Linked DNA regions of Homo sapiens: regions 1 and 2 are each linked to region 3. Evidence: promoter capture Hi-C in human tissues and cell types (Jung and others, 2019). All regions are on one chromosome and are shown on one strand. Each heading gives the region's core, a stretch centred on a gene start or on the middle of the fragment in contact. The rest is flanking DNA. Distances are from core to core; before and after follow the strand shown. Region 1 overlaps ATE1 (arginyltransferase 1). Region 2 overlaps TACC2 (transforming acidic coiled-coil containing protein 2). Region 3 holds the start of TACC2 (transforming acidic coiled-coil containing protein 2).

Region 1 (4,441 bases), core at 1,029-3,528, 160 kb after region 3:
CTCATTTACCTGATCTTTTGTATTGAGTAATGAGCTATCACAATGGCATGCTGAAATGATGTGTCTGTCTTTATGTGTAGTGAGCCCCATGTTTTGGTAGATGGTTTTCAAAGCTGTCCACCGTCAGGGCTTCTCATCCCTGTCTGTGCATGCTGCTCCACCCATCAGCAGTCTAGGCTGTTTTCCTAATCCTAGATTGGACTGACCTGGTGACTTACACTGACTGATGGGTAGCCTGGAAGGAACTGCCTGGGACTTCTGGGCTCAGGCCTTGTCTGGCAGCATTCACTTTCTCTGTCTTTGGAGCTAGCCATCATAGTACCCTGCTGAAGAGAGAGGCCACTGTATGAGGCCTGAAGCCATCTTGGATGTTTCAGCTCCACTCAAGCTGAATGCACCTGCGTGACTGAGCTCGAGACAGACCAGAAGAAAACCCACCTAGCTGAGTTCTAGCCAACCCACAGAATCATGAGGAATAATAAGTTATTGTTTAAGGCCACTACGTTTTTGGGTGGTTTGTTACTCAGCAATGGATGACTGAAACACATGGTGTAGGTATGAAAGTGACACCTTCATTCTCTGTTTTGCTGTGCACACTCATGTCTTGAATTGAACTGAGTGGATTTGAGACGTTTCTGATGGTGTAATGTAAGAGTTTTGGCAAAGTCACTTAATTTCCACATGCAGTCATGCCTAGAGATGTGCTCATTGGGCTTATGAGAATTAGTCTTTATAAGACATTTCATTTAATATCCTGACATGAGCTTACGAGGTATCTTAACATGCTGACAAATTTTTATTTTGCTTGCCTTGCTAATGGTGAGCACTACAAGAGGAAAACCAGTATGTGGTCATCGTCATAGTATATAGACAGGATGCATTACAGTAAATTCTCCTCCCTAAGGAATTTTGCTAATAAGTAGCAGTTATATTCTTGTGCATCATATTCTCTAAAATGCTTTTGTTGAATTTTTTGGTTTTATTGTTCATTGTTTATGGGTTTTCAATAAAGACTGATTTACATTGCATATATTCTGTAGTCATTACATTACATTACATAGATATTTTTTGTCCATGACCATAGTCTTACATGTAAGGCACAAGATAGTCACAAAATAATTTAATGACAGGTGATAAATACAGTCATTGATGAAAGGAAATTGTCTTCAAATGTTGTGCTGTCATTGCTCACATGAGCTATTGTAATAATTGTGGCCATTGTAATGAGACTTGGTACTGTTTTAGTGTAGCTCAGTATCAGTTCGGGGACTCAGGCACTGGTTGAAATTAGTGGAAATTGTATTTTCAACTGAGAAGAGTTTCTCCTGGGAGGAGCTCATCCTGCTGAAGCGGGAGGGGTAGTGTGGTTTTCTGGCTGCTGTCCGCAGTGGTGCTGGTCCTCTTGGTCAGCTTCTCTTACAGTTCCAAGGTGGTGGCTGCCCATTCAGGAATTGCGGGCCATCAGCAGTGACTAGAATCAGAAAAGAATTTTCTCTCCTCTGTCTCCTCTTTTTAAAAAAAATTTGCTGGGCACAGTGGCTCATGCCTGTAATTCCAGCACTTTGGGAGGCTGAGGCAGGTGGATCACGAGGTCAAGAGATTGAGACCATCCTGGCCAACATGGTGAAACCCCGTCTCTACTAAAAGTACAAAATTTAGATGGCCATGGTGGCGCACACCTGTAGTTCCAGCTACTCAGGAGGCCGAGGCAGGAGAATTGCTTGAACCCAGAAGGCGGAGGTTTCAGTGAGCTGGGATTGCGCCACTGCACTCCAGCCTGGCGACAGAGAGAGACTCCATCTCAAAAAAAAAAAAAATTATTGCCCATCAACAGTAAAGAAAATGTGATACAGATATACTATGGAATACTACACAGTCATCAAAAAGAATGAAATTATGTACTTTGCAGCAACAAGGATGCAGCTGGAGGCCATTCTCCTAAGTGAGCTAACATAGAAAACCAGATACCACATGTTCTCACTTATAAGTGGGAGCTAGACATTAGATACACATGAACTAAAAAGAGAGGAACAGTAGACATTGGGGACTACTAGAGTGGGGAGAGAGGGAAGGTGGCAAGGGCTGAAAAACTACCTGTTGGGTGCTGTGCGCACTACCTAGGTGACAGATTCATTTGTACGCCAAACCTCAACATCACACGATACACCTTTGTAACAAACCTGCACATGTACCCTCTGATTCTAAAATAAAAGTTGGAAAAAAATTATTGTTGCTAGGTGCGGTGGCTCATGCCTGTAATCCCAGCACTTTGGGAGGCCGAGGAGGGTGGATCACAAGGTCAAGAGTTGAGACCATCCTGGCCAACATGGTGAAACCCTGTCTCTACTAAAAATGCAAAAACGTTTAGTGGATGTGGTGACGCATGCCTCTAGTTCCAGCTACTTGGGAGGCTGAGGCAGGAGAATTGCTTGAACCCACGAGGTGGAGGTTGCAGTAAGCCGAGATTGCGCCACTGCACTCCAGCCTGGCAACAGAGCGAGACTCCATCTCAAAAAGAAAAAAAAACATTCTTGTTGGTTGTGGTAAAATACACATAATGTTTACCCTCTTAAACACTTTTAAGTGCTCAGTTTGGTGATATTAAGTACATTCACATTGCTGTGCACCATCACCACCTTCCATGTCATTTCTTCATCTTACACAATCAGTACTCTGTACCCAATAGACGATAGCTCCCCCTTCCCCACCCCTAAGAATTTGACTATTCTAGGTACCTCAAAAAAGTGGAATCATAGCATTTGTCTTTCTGTAACTGACTTAATTTACTCAGCATAATACCCTCAAGATTCATTCATGTTGTCACATATGTCAATTTCTTTCCTCTTTAAGGCTGAATAACATTTCACTGTATATACCACATTTTGTTTATTCATTTATCCATTGGCATCTGGGCTGCCCCAATCCCTGGGCTGTTAATGAATAATGCTGCTATGGACACAGGGTACAAATATCTCTTTGAGACTCACTTTCCCTTCTTTGTGTATACCCGTAAGTGGAATTGCTGAATCAAAGGTAATTCTATTTTTAATTTTTTGAGGAACTGCCACCCTGTGTTCCATAAGGCCATACCATTTCACATCCTGCCAGCAATGCACAAGTGTTCCAGTTTCTCCACATCCTCACCAGCACTTGTTATTTTCTGGGCTGCCGTTTGTTTTTCCTTTTAATACTAGCTATTGTAATGGGTGTGAGGTGGTTTGTGTCTCTTCCTAAGATTGAGGAAACCCTCACTGAGAAGCCTTCTAGCAGACTTCACATGTTTCGTTTGTCAGAGTTGTGCCTCTTATTTGTATGTGAGCTAATCACTGGTAAGGAGTTAGACTTAAGGCAAGCATGGTTGGTAATGGGAGAAACTGCTTCCTTGAGCACAGGGTCCTGCAGAGTGTGAACATCTGAAAAATTTTTAAAATTTCTGCCTAAGCCAATATTTTCTTTAAACTGAGATATGAAATATATTTTTAACTGAGCTGTTGGTTTAAACATTTCTGTCTGTGTGTCATATTTGTAACCTGTATTGTTGGAAAGAAAACTTCAATAGAAATGAGTCCTTTCAACCTTCATTCAGATTTTAATTGTGTGCCTAATGATACTCATCATATTAACCTTACTTTATTTCCCATAATTCCATCTTGGGAATTAGTGGAAACTATATTATTTAATAAATTATTATATAACTTAATATTTAAATTAAAGTGGAAGGTGGTTGGTGGAAATTATAATTTCTTTTAAAATTAATCCATTCTTAAAATTACTGTATTAATTTCACATCTCAAAATTTTATATATAGGCTTTTTTCCTTTTTTTCTTTACTTTGTCTCCTTTTTGGCGTATGCTTGAAAATAGCTATTCACTTTTTTTTTTTACTGTAAACATAGGGTTTCCCATGCTTTTCAAATATTTATTATTTGCATGCAAAGCTTAGTTCTCTCTTTTTAACCCCTTCTCATTTCAAAATGATTACATTTGAAAATGAAAATTAGAGTATATAGAAATGTTGTTAGGCATAATTAAATTTTTTCCCCCATATTATCTCTCAGAGTGCTGTGTAAGGCCATTCTATGATCTGAAGAAGGTATTTTGACTGAATTTTTTATACAGACATGTATGCTGTCCAAAGTAGACAAAGTGATTTCAGGCGGTCTGTTTGGTATCATGATGTGGCCAGACATCAGATCATTGAAACATCAGAAAGAGTTCTGAAATGTCAGAAAAGAAACAAAAGGCTAAATCCGTCTGTGATTAATTATGCTTATGTGAATGTCTCAGCTTGATTGTGAGAATTGGAATTCTGCAGGGCTTTGCCCAAAAGTAGGTGCTTGGCCTTACTATTATGATAGTAAGCACCTACAAAAAAATGGAATTAACAGAGCTGCGTCTGCAAAATCATGCACTACTGAAACCCCCAAGTTTCCAAGCTTTT
Region 2 (4,402 bases), core at 1,083-3,582, 140 kb before region 3:
GCCCTGAGGTCTCATCACCAGCTCCAGGGCCCCCACCGTACCTCTGGGCTATCAGATCCGTAGAGACCTGGCCAACAACATCACCGTGGTAGGAAGAGGCAGCTAAGGTTGGGCTTTCCAGGTCTGCGGGGGCAGCGGGCTGGATGATATCATCTGCCACAGGTGAACTGGGGAGAGAAAAGGGAAAGAACCTAAACTCAGAAACATTCCTACAAGTTTTTGTTTTGAGACGGAGTTTCGCTTTTCTTATCCAGGCTGGAGGGCAATGGCGCGATCTCCGCTCACTGCAAACTCTGTCTCCAGGGTACAGGCAATTCTCCTCCCTTGGCCTCCTGAGTAGCTGCGATTACAGGCGCCCCGCCACCACAGCCAGCTAATTTTTTTGTATTTTTAGTAGAGATCGGGTTTCACCATGTTGGCCAGGCAGGTCGCAAACTCCTGACTTCAGGTGATCTGCATGCCTCGGCCTCCCAAAGTGTGGGGATTACAGGCGTGAGCCGCCGTGCCTGGCCTCCTACAAGTTTTCAATGTGTTTTAACAGCACATTTCTATCTGGATCCTGAGCAGGGCCTCAGTTTCCCTTTCTGTGAGGGATGAGTTTGGTGCTGCTCAAAGCAGGGTCTGTCACCAGTCTATGCCAAGAGTAGTACAGAAACCTCAAGTAAGTGTTTAGAAACCTTTGTAGATCTTTCTCTTTCTTTCTTTCTTTTTCTTTCTTTCTTTCTTTCTTTCTTTCTTTCTTTTTCTTTCTTTTTTGAGACTGTCTCGCTCTGTCACCCAGGCTGAAGTGCAATGACGTGATCTCGGCTCATTGCAACCGCCGCCTCACGGGTTCAAGCAATACTCGTACCTCAGCCACCCGAGTGGCTGGAATTATAGGCACCCACCACCACGCCTGGCTAATTTTTGCATTTCTAGTAGAGTTGGGGTTTCATCATGTTGGCCAGGCTGGTCTCAAACTCCTAGGTTCAAGTGGTCTGCCCGCCTTGGCCTCCCAAAGTGCCGGGATTACAGGCATGAGCCACCACGCCTGGCCCCTCTGTAGCAATTTGATAGACTACGTTCATGTCTGTTAAATCTAATAATAAAAGGACAGGTTCAACATCCTACCACACACAGGACAGTCCCCAAGACAAAGGACTATGTGGTCCAGAACATCAATAGTGCCAAGGTTGAGAAACCCCAGCCTTGAGTTTTATTTCATTTTTCTAGTAATTCATTTAATTATATTTTTTAAAGTTTAGATCTATGATGAGTTAGAAATTTAAAAACAACCCTGGTCCTTTATGGACTGAAAGAGTCTGCAACCTCCAAGCACAGGGTGGCTCAGGAAGCTAGAAGAGGCTCAGTCCTTGGACACCCATCGTCTTGTAGTCAGTTACCCTATTATTTCATCGGGGAGGTCCCTGAGTGACTTTCTGATGAACTCCGCTCTGTAGCCATAAGTAGCAGGACCATTCTTTCCACTCCTTGATCAGATCCTTATTGAAAACCAATTCTCTGCTGTGAACAAGAGAGCAGCGGTCCCTGCCTTCATGGGACGTCTCATGGGACAGCTTCAGGCAAGAGTCAGATTTTTTTTTTTTTTTTTTTTTTTTGAGAAAGCGTCTCCCTCTGCTGCCCAGACTGAAATGCAGTGGCTCCATGACGGCTCACTGTAACCTCAACTTCCCAGGCTCAAGCAATCCTCCCACTTCAGCCTCCCCAAATGCTGGGATTATAGGCGTGGGCCACCTTGCCCAGCCCAGACATTTTTTTTAAATGTTTATTTATTTAGTAACAACTGTAGTAACTGCTAAGAAGGAAGGTGCAGATGGTCATGAGAACACAAACTGAGAACTCTTGGCCCACAATGGGGGTTGTGGAAAACTCTGTGGTGTGGTGAGCATGCTGAGGCCAGCTCAGTAACAAGTGTTTCCTAATGGTTACTACGTATACGTGCCAGGAACTGTTCTAAGTGCGTATAGATGGCACTGTATTTGATCCTCACAACGACCTTTATGAGGGGGATACGATTATTAAACACACTTTACAGATGTAAAAACTAAGGCACAGAGAGGCTGAGCAGCTTGTCGAAGGTTGAACAGCAGCTAAGTGGCAGAACCAGGATACAAACCCAAGCCTGACCCCAGGAGTCATGCTCTTAATCTCCACACTTGGCTTTGTCCCACAGGTGGAAGAGGAAGGAAGAGGGGCTGGGCACGGTGGCTTATGCCTGTAATCCCAACACTTTGGGGAGGCTGAGGCTGGAGGATCAGTTGAAGCCAGGAGTTGAAGACCAGCCTGGGAAGCATAGGGTGACCCTGTCTCTAGAAAAAATGTTAAAGCTTAAAAAAGGAAGAGTATACCCTGACCCTCAGCCCTACCCCCCATTCAGGGAGCCACGTATTTAAAAACCCTGAATCAGGAAGGAGCTTGGTATTCTAGAGGACCTGCAAAATGTCACTGCAACTAGAGTACAGATGAAGAAGGGGGAGTCTGGCTGGGCACAGTGGCTCACACCTGTAATCTCAGCACTTTGGGAGGCCGAGGTGGGCAGATCACTTGAGGTCAGGAGTTCAAGACCAGCCTGGCCAACATGGTGAAAACCTGTCTCTACTAAAAATACAAAAATTAGCTGTGCATGGTAGTGTGTGCCTGTAATCCCAGCCACACGAGGCTGAGGCACAAGAATCACTTGAACCTGGGAGGCAGAGATTGCAGTGAGCTGAGATTGCGCCACTGCACTCCAGCCTGGGTGACAGAGGGAGACTCCGTATTGATCCTAGGCAGAAGAATCAGCCTGAAGCTTCAACCCAATGTTCAGCCATAAAGTGCCTTTGGCATTGACAGTGCGGAGGTCCAGGGTGAATTTCCCAAAACTATCCTCTCAATACGATTGGACTAGCACATGTGTGCACCCACACTACTGCTTATTCTCCATTCTCCATGTTCCCACCCACCATTCCAGTTCCCCCAGAACAAGATCCTGAAGCCCTGTGACCACATCCAAGGAGTCAGAGAAAGAGATCACTGCAAAGAGAAATGGAAGAAGCAGTGAGCCCAGAAGAGGGAGGATGGCAGGAGCTCCGGCTGGGTGTCTTGGTGAATCACAATGTCTAGAATCCTAAACTACAGGCAAACTACAGGGGCACTTTCCAAAATCATAAAATCTGAGTGGAAAAACAGAGCTCCAAAGTTCTGGCAACACACATTGAAAACCATAAAAGACTTCGTTTCCTTTGACACAGCCATGGTTCTTCCAAGAATTCATTTTAAGGAGATAATTAAGGGCATGGGCAAATATGCTGATCACAACTGGAATCACGATAGCAAAAAATCTGGAAACAACCAAAATGCCCAACAGTAGAGGACAGTTCATCAAATTAAGGCGCAACCACAGGATGGACTCGTTTGCGGCTGTTCAAAAAATAAGGTAGGCCGGGCGCAGTAGCTCATGCCTGTAATCCCAGCACCTTGGGAGGCCGAGGCAGGTGGATCACCTGAGGTCAAGAGTTCGAGACGAGCCTGGCCAACATGGTGAAACCCCGTCTCTACTAAAAATGCAAAAAATTAGCCAGGTGTGGTAGTGGGCACCTGAGGCAGGAGAATCGCTTGAACCCAGGAGTTGGAGATTGCAGTGAGCAGAGATCGTGCCATTGCACTCCAGCCTGGGTGACAAGAGCAAAACTCCATCTCAAATAATAATAATAATAATAATAATAATAATAATAATTAAAATAAGATAGATCTTCATGTATCTAGATGCAAACATGTCCATTATTAATTGAACATAGGTTGAAAAAACTTAGCAGCATGATCCACATTTTATGTGTATCAATGATATACATGGGTATGTGTGTCTATACAGTCTATGTATAGACATACACACACGAGCACGTGACAGAGAGAGAGAGAGACAGCGCAAGCATAATAGCCTGAACAATGAAGCAATTTGGACAAGTATTGCCAAGGTGTTAACGGTAATTCTCTTTCGGTGGTGAAATCATTTGTGTTTTTTCTTAATGAAATTTATATCTACTTTCTAGTTCTATGCTGAACACATACTACTTTTGTAAGTAAAATAAATTAGAAACCATATGTAAGAAGTTATTTTAAGTGCCAGGGAACAACTTCCATGTATAACTCAGTGAAAGCTTTCAGAGATGGAGACAATCAGAAAGCCACTGTCTTTTCCCCACTTCTGTACTCATATTTTCCACTGGGAGGACCTAGGCTTGTCAGCCTCATTCCAGGGCGGGAACGCGGCCAGGCTTCGTCCATTAGGCACCACTGGAAAATGAGGTCCCAGCAAAGAAGATCTGGAATAAAAGATATCTGCCCACATATTCTACGTGATGGCATTTTCACCTAAACTCTTTGGAATGGAATTATTTTTCAAATCATAAACACTTCCCTGACT
Region 3 (4,043 bases), core at 723-3,222:
GACTTCATTAAAATGATAACAAAGGCATTTTTAAAAACAAGTAGGTCCAGATGAGGCGTAGTGGCTCATACCTGTAATTCCAGTACTTTGGGAGGCTGAGACAGGTGGATCACTTGAGGTCAGGAGTTTGAAACCAGCCTGGCCAATATGGCAAAATCATCTCTACTAAAAATACAAAAATTAGCTGGGCGTGGTGGCAGGTGCCTGTAATCCCAGCTACTCAGGGGGCTGAGGCAGGAGAATCGAGTGAACCTGGGAGGCAGAGGTTGCAGTGAGCCGAGAAGGCAACACTACACTCCAGCCTGGGTAACACAGCGAGTCCCTGTCTCAAAAACAAACAAACAAACAACAACAACAAAAAAACAGGTATGTCCAGACAATAATGTAATAATGTGGCAAACTGGAGAAGGCACATTAGCTGATGAGAGCTTTCTCCATGGTTGTGGGTAATGGAAAGCAGTGACGGCCTGGTAGTTGAGGAATTAGGGCAGAGGGGCATTAGACTAGAGTAGAAGGGGCTCCAGCCAAACAAGACTCTGCAGACCCTGGAGAGGGTCTGAAACACCAGGAACAATGGTGGGAACGTACTTGGGCAGAAAATTAAAAATAAGTGTCAATGGAATCTACCCTTTGCCCTGCCTGGCCCCGTGCCATAAGACAAAAACAAAATTGAAAACGAAAGCAAAACCTTTCCTATATCCTGATATTTAAAATTCTGGCAGTGTTTGGTGGCTCATACCTATAATCCCAGCACTTTGGGAGGCTGAGGCAGGAGGATCACTTGAGCCTAGGGGTTTGAGACCAGCCTGGCCAACACGGCGAGACCCCCATCTCTATAAAAAATAAAAAATATTAGCTGAATTTAGTGGCATGCACCTGTAGTTCCAACTACTTGAGAGGATTGCTCCTGGTGGGAGGATTGCGTTAGCCCGGGAGGTCGAGGCTGCAATGAACCATCATTATGCCACTGCACTCCAGCCTGGGCAGTAGAGCAAGACCCTGTCTAAAAAAAAAAATCCACAGAAGGTTGAAGGTAAATTTAATAAAATATCTCAAAAAACAGAATTAAAGAAATATTTAAAATATGAAAAAATATTAAAGGTCTGGAGAATCAAACTGTGAGGTCCCTATCTAAGTGACGGGAGATGCAGACATGACACAGAAAAGTAGAAGGAAGAAAGTGTCGAGGTGGTAACATAAAAATATTTCCCATGCTGCACATGCTGGCATGTGCTTGTGGTACCAGCTGCTTGGGAAGCTGAGGCAGGAGAATCACTTGAGCCCAGTAGTTCTGGGCTACAGTGAGCCATGATCATGCCACCGCACTCTGGCTTGGATGACAGAGTAAGAACCTATCTCTAAAAACATAAAAAAAAAAAATAAAATTAATTTAAAAAATAAAAATAAATCATAATTTTTTCCAAAGTTGAAAGACGCAAAAGGGCTCTCACTAGGTGCCTAGCACAGTAGATGAAAATACCTCATACAGTTCTGTGAGTTGGCTGGGCTCAGCCAGGCAGTTCTCACCTTGAGTGATGGTGCTCCCCAGCCACTGAACCTAAGAAGATAGGGTTTTCCTACCCTGTATTTTCAAGTAATGGGAATCAGAGCCAACTTCATTTTCCAGCCCTCTCCTCCTTACTTACCGCACTCCAGCTGTTACCAGTAGGGAATCTGATGTGTCTGCAGCAGCAACTCTATTCTTCCCTCCTCAGAGGAAAAAATTCGCCCAAGGGGCATAAGGTAGAGTAAGAAACCAAGATAACTTTTAGAGCAGGAGTGAAAGTTTTTAAAAAAGTTTTAGAGAGGAATGAAAGGAAGTAAAGTATACTTGGAAGAGGACCAAGCGGGTGACTTGAGAAATCCCAGTGCACTGTACAACCCTTAATGTGGGGTTTTATATGTTGGCACGGTTCTGGGATTTGCGTTTCTTCTCTCCTGATCCTTCCCTTGGAGCAGGCTGTCCACTTATGCAGTGGTCTGCCAGCACTTGGGAGTGGCCGCACTCACAGTGTGTTTACTGAAGTTGTGCGCGTGCTCATTTGAGGCATTTTTCCCTTGCCAGTCGAGAATTCCTAGAGGAAGGTCATATATTAGTTAAACTCTGACATTTTGCCCCTTAGGGCCCATGCTTGAGCCCACTTGCCCAACTCCTGAGATCTTATCAGGAAGCGGCTGACACTAGCTTCAGGTGTTTTCTATCTATTGGGAGCCGGCCTTTCCCTGGTGCTGGCTGCAACCAATGATGATTTTAGAGAAACAGTGTAACAACCACCTGACCATCACATGATGGTCGCCTGACATTCCTGGTTGGGGGTGGGGGTGGAATGCCCTCTGCTGCCCTTCTCATGTTCCCCTAGCTACCTACTCTAACACAGGTATGTATGCCTTTCTGAACTTTCTTGAATGTGTCAGACTTATTTTAACCCCAAAGACTTTTTTTTGCTATTGCCTTTGACTACAATATGACTTCCCTGTATTTTTGCATGACACATTACTCCTCACAATTCAAGTCACATCTCAAATGTCACCTCCTCAGGAAAGATGTTGTGCTGCTCATCACACCTAAAATAGCAACTTTCAGGTCGGGCACAGTGACTCATGCCTGTGATCCCAGCACTTTGGGAGGCCGAGGTGGGTGGATTACTTGAGGTTAGGAGTTCAAGACCAGCCTGGCGAACATGGTAAAACCCCCTCTCTACTAAAAAGACAAAAATTAGCCGGGCGTGGTGGCAGGTGCCTGCTATCCCAGCTATTTAGGAGGCTAAGGCAGGAGAACTGCCTGAACCCAGAGGTGGAGGTTGCAGTGAGCCAAGATCGCACCACTGCACTCCAGCCTGGGTGACAGAGTGAGACTCTATCTGGAGGGAAAGAAAAAATGCAACTTCTATTCTCCACCTATCCCTTTAGCCTATTTAAATTCTTCATAGCACTTACAATGACCAAATCCTTTTTTTTTCTTTTCTTTATTATCTGTCTCCTCCATGAGAGTAGGGACTTTGTCTTATTCATCATTATACAGATGGTTCTGGAGCCACCCAACAAGTTCTTCTTCCCCACTGCACAGACAAAAATCAATTCACTGAGACCATGGCATTGCAATAGAGAAAGAGTTTAACTGCCGCGAGGCTGAGCCCACGTGGGAGAACTGGAGTTATCCCTCAGATCAGTCTCCCTGTAGGCTCGGAACAAGGGTTTTTATGGACAATTTGGTTGTCAGGGGGTAGGGGGATAGTGCCGCTGATTGGTTGGGGATGAAATCATACCGGTGTGGAAAGCAGTCCTCATGCACTGAGTCTGCCTCTGGGTGGGGCCCCAGGACCTGTTGAGTCATGAGTCATGAGTCTGAGTGAGGTCAGTCTGAAAAACATCTTAAAAAACTCAATCTTGGCTGGGCGCGGTGGCTCACGCCTGTAATCCCAGCACTTTGGGAGGCCCAGGTGGGTGGATCACAAGATCAGGAGTTCGAGACCAGCCTGGCCAAGATGGTGAAACCCCGTCTCTACTAAAAATACAAAAACAAACAAACAAACAAACACCCCAATCTTAAGTTCTACAATAGTGATGTTACTTACAGGAGCAATTGGGAAAGTCACAGATCTTGTGAACTCTGGCCACATGACCCCTGGGCATTAAGGGACTATAGAAACTATGCCTACATTTTAGCAGAGTTCTGCCTTCTCCCATTATCCTATTCCTGTGGCCTTTCATTAGTCTTACAAAGGCGATTTTGGTCCCTGAGAAAGGAGGGGGTTAGTTTTAGGGAGGGACTATTATAATCTTTACTTTCAAATTAAACTATAAATTGAATTCCTCCCAAAGTTAGCTTGGCCTATGCCCAGGAATAACCAAGGACAGCTTGGAGGTCAGAAGCAAGATGAAGTCAACCATGTCACATTTCTGTTACTGTCAGTTCTGCAAAGGCAGTTTCCTTCCCTAACATAACAATAATTTGATGTAGATTTATCATAAGATGGCTCAAAAGAGAGAATGCATTCAGCAGAAACTGTACTTTGAGTATTCAAACAACTATTCTGTTTTTC

The links. The method cuts DNA at HindIII sites, captures the fragments that hold promoters and counts their contacts. A contact is called where the count stands out against the background at its distance.
Region 1: a fragment that was not itself captured here is called in contact with the fragment with the promoter of TACC2 in region 3 in 1 of the 25 tissues and cell types used here (pancreas).
Region 2: a contact is called between a fragment that was not itself captured here and the fragment with the promoter of TACC2 in region 3, in 1 of the 25 tissues and cell types used here (adrenal gland).

Annotation. Positions count from the first base shown.
Region 1 is chr10:121,824,395-121,828,835 of GRCh38, reverse strand. The region is part of intron 10 of ATE1 (arginyltransferase 1); the gene reads left to right. Among named protein-coding and RNA genes, the nearest start is that of ATE1, 100 kb to the left of the region's middle. The HindIII fragment of the contact is 5,400 bases long and covers 1-4,441 here.
Region 2 is chr10:122,128,374-122,132,775 of GRCh38, reverse strand. TACC2 (transforming acidic coiled-coil containing protein 2) reads right to left here. Exons shown (of 23, transcript NM_206862.4): 6 at 42-167. Among named protein-coding and RNA genes, the nearest start is that of BTBD16, 140 kb to the left of the region's middle. The HindIII fragment of the contact is 5,552 bases long and covers 1-4,402 here.
Region 3 is chr10:121,987,092-121,991,134 of GRCh38, reverse strand. TACC2 (transforming acidic coiled-coil containing protein 2) reads right to left here and starts at 1,972. Exons shown (of 23, transcript NM_206862.4): 1 at 1,647-1,972. The HindIII fragment of the contact is 30,860 bases long and covers 1-4,043 here.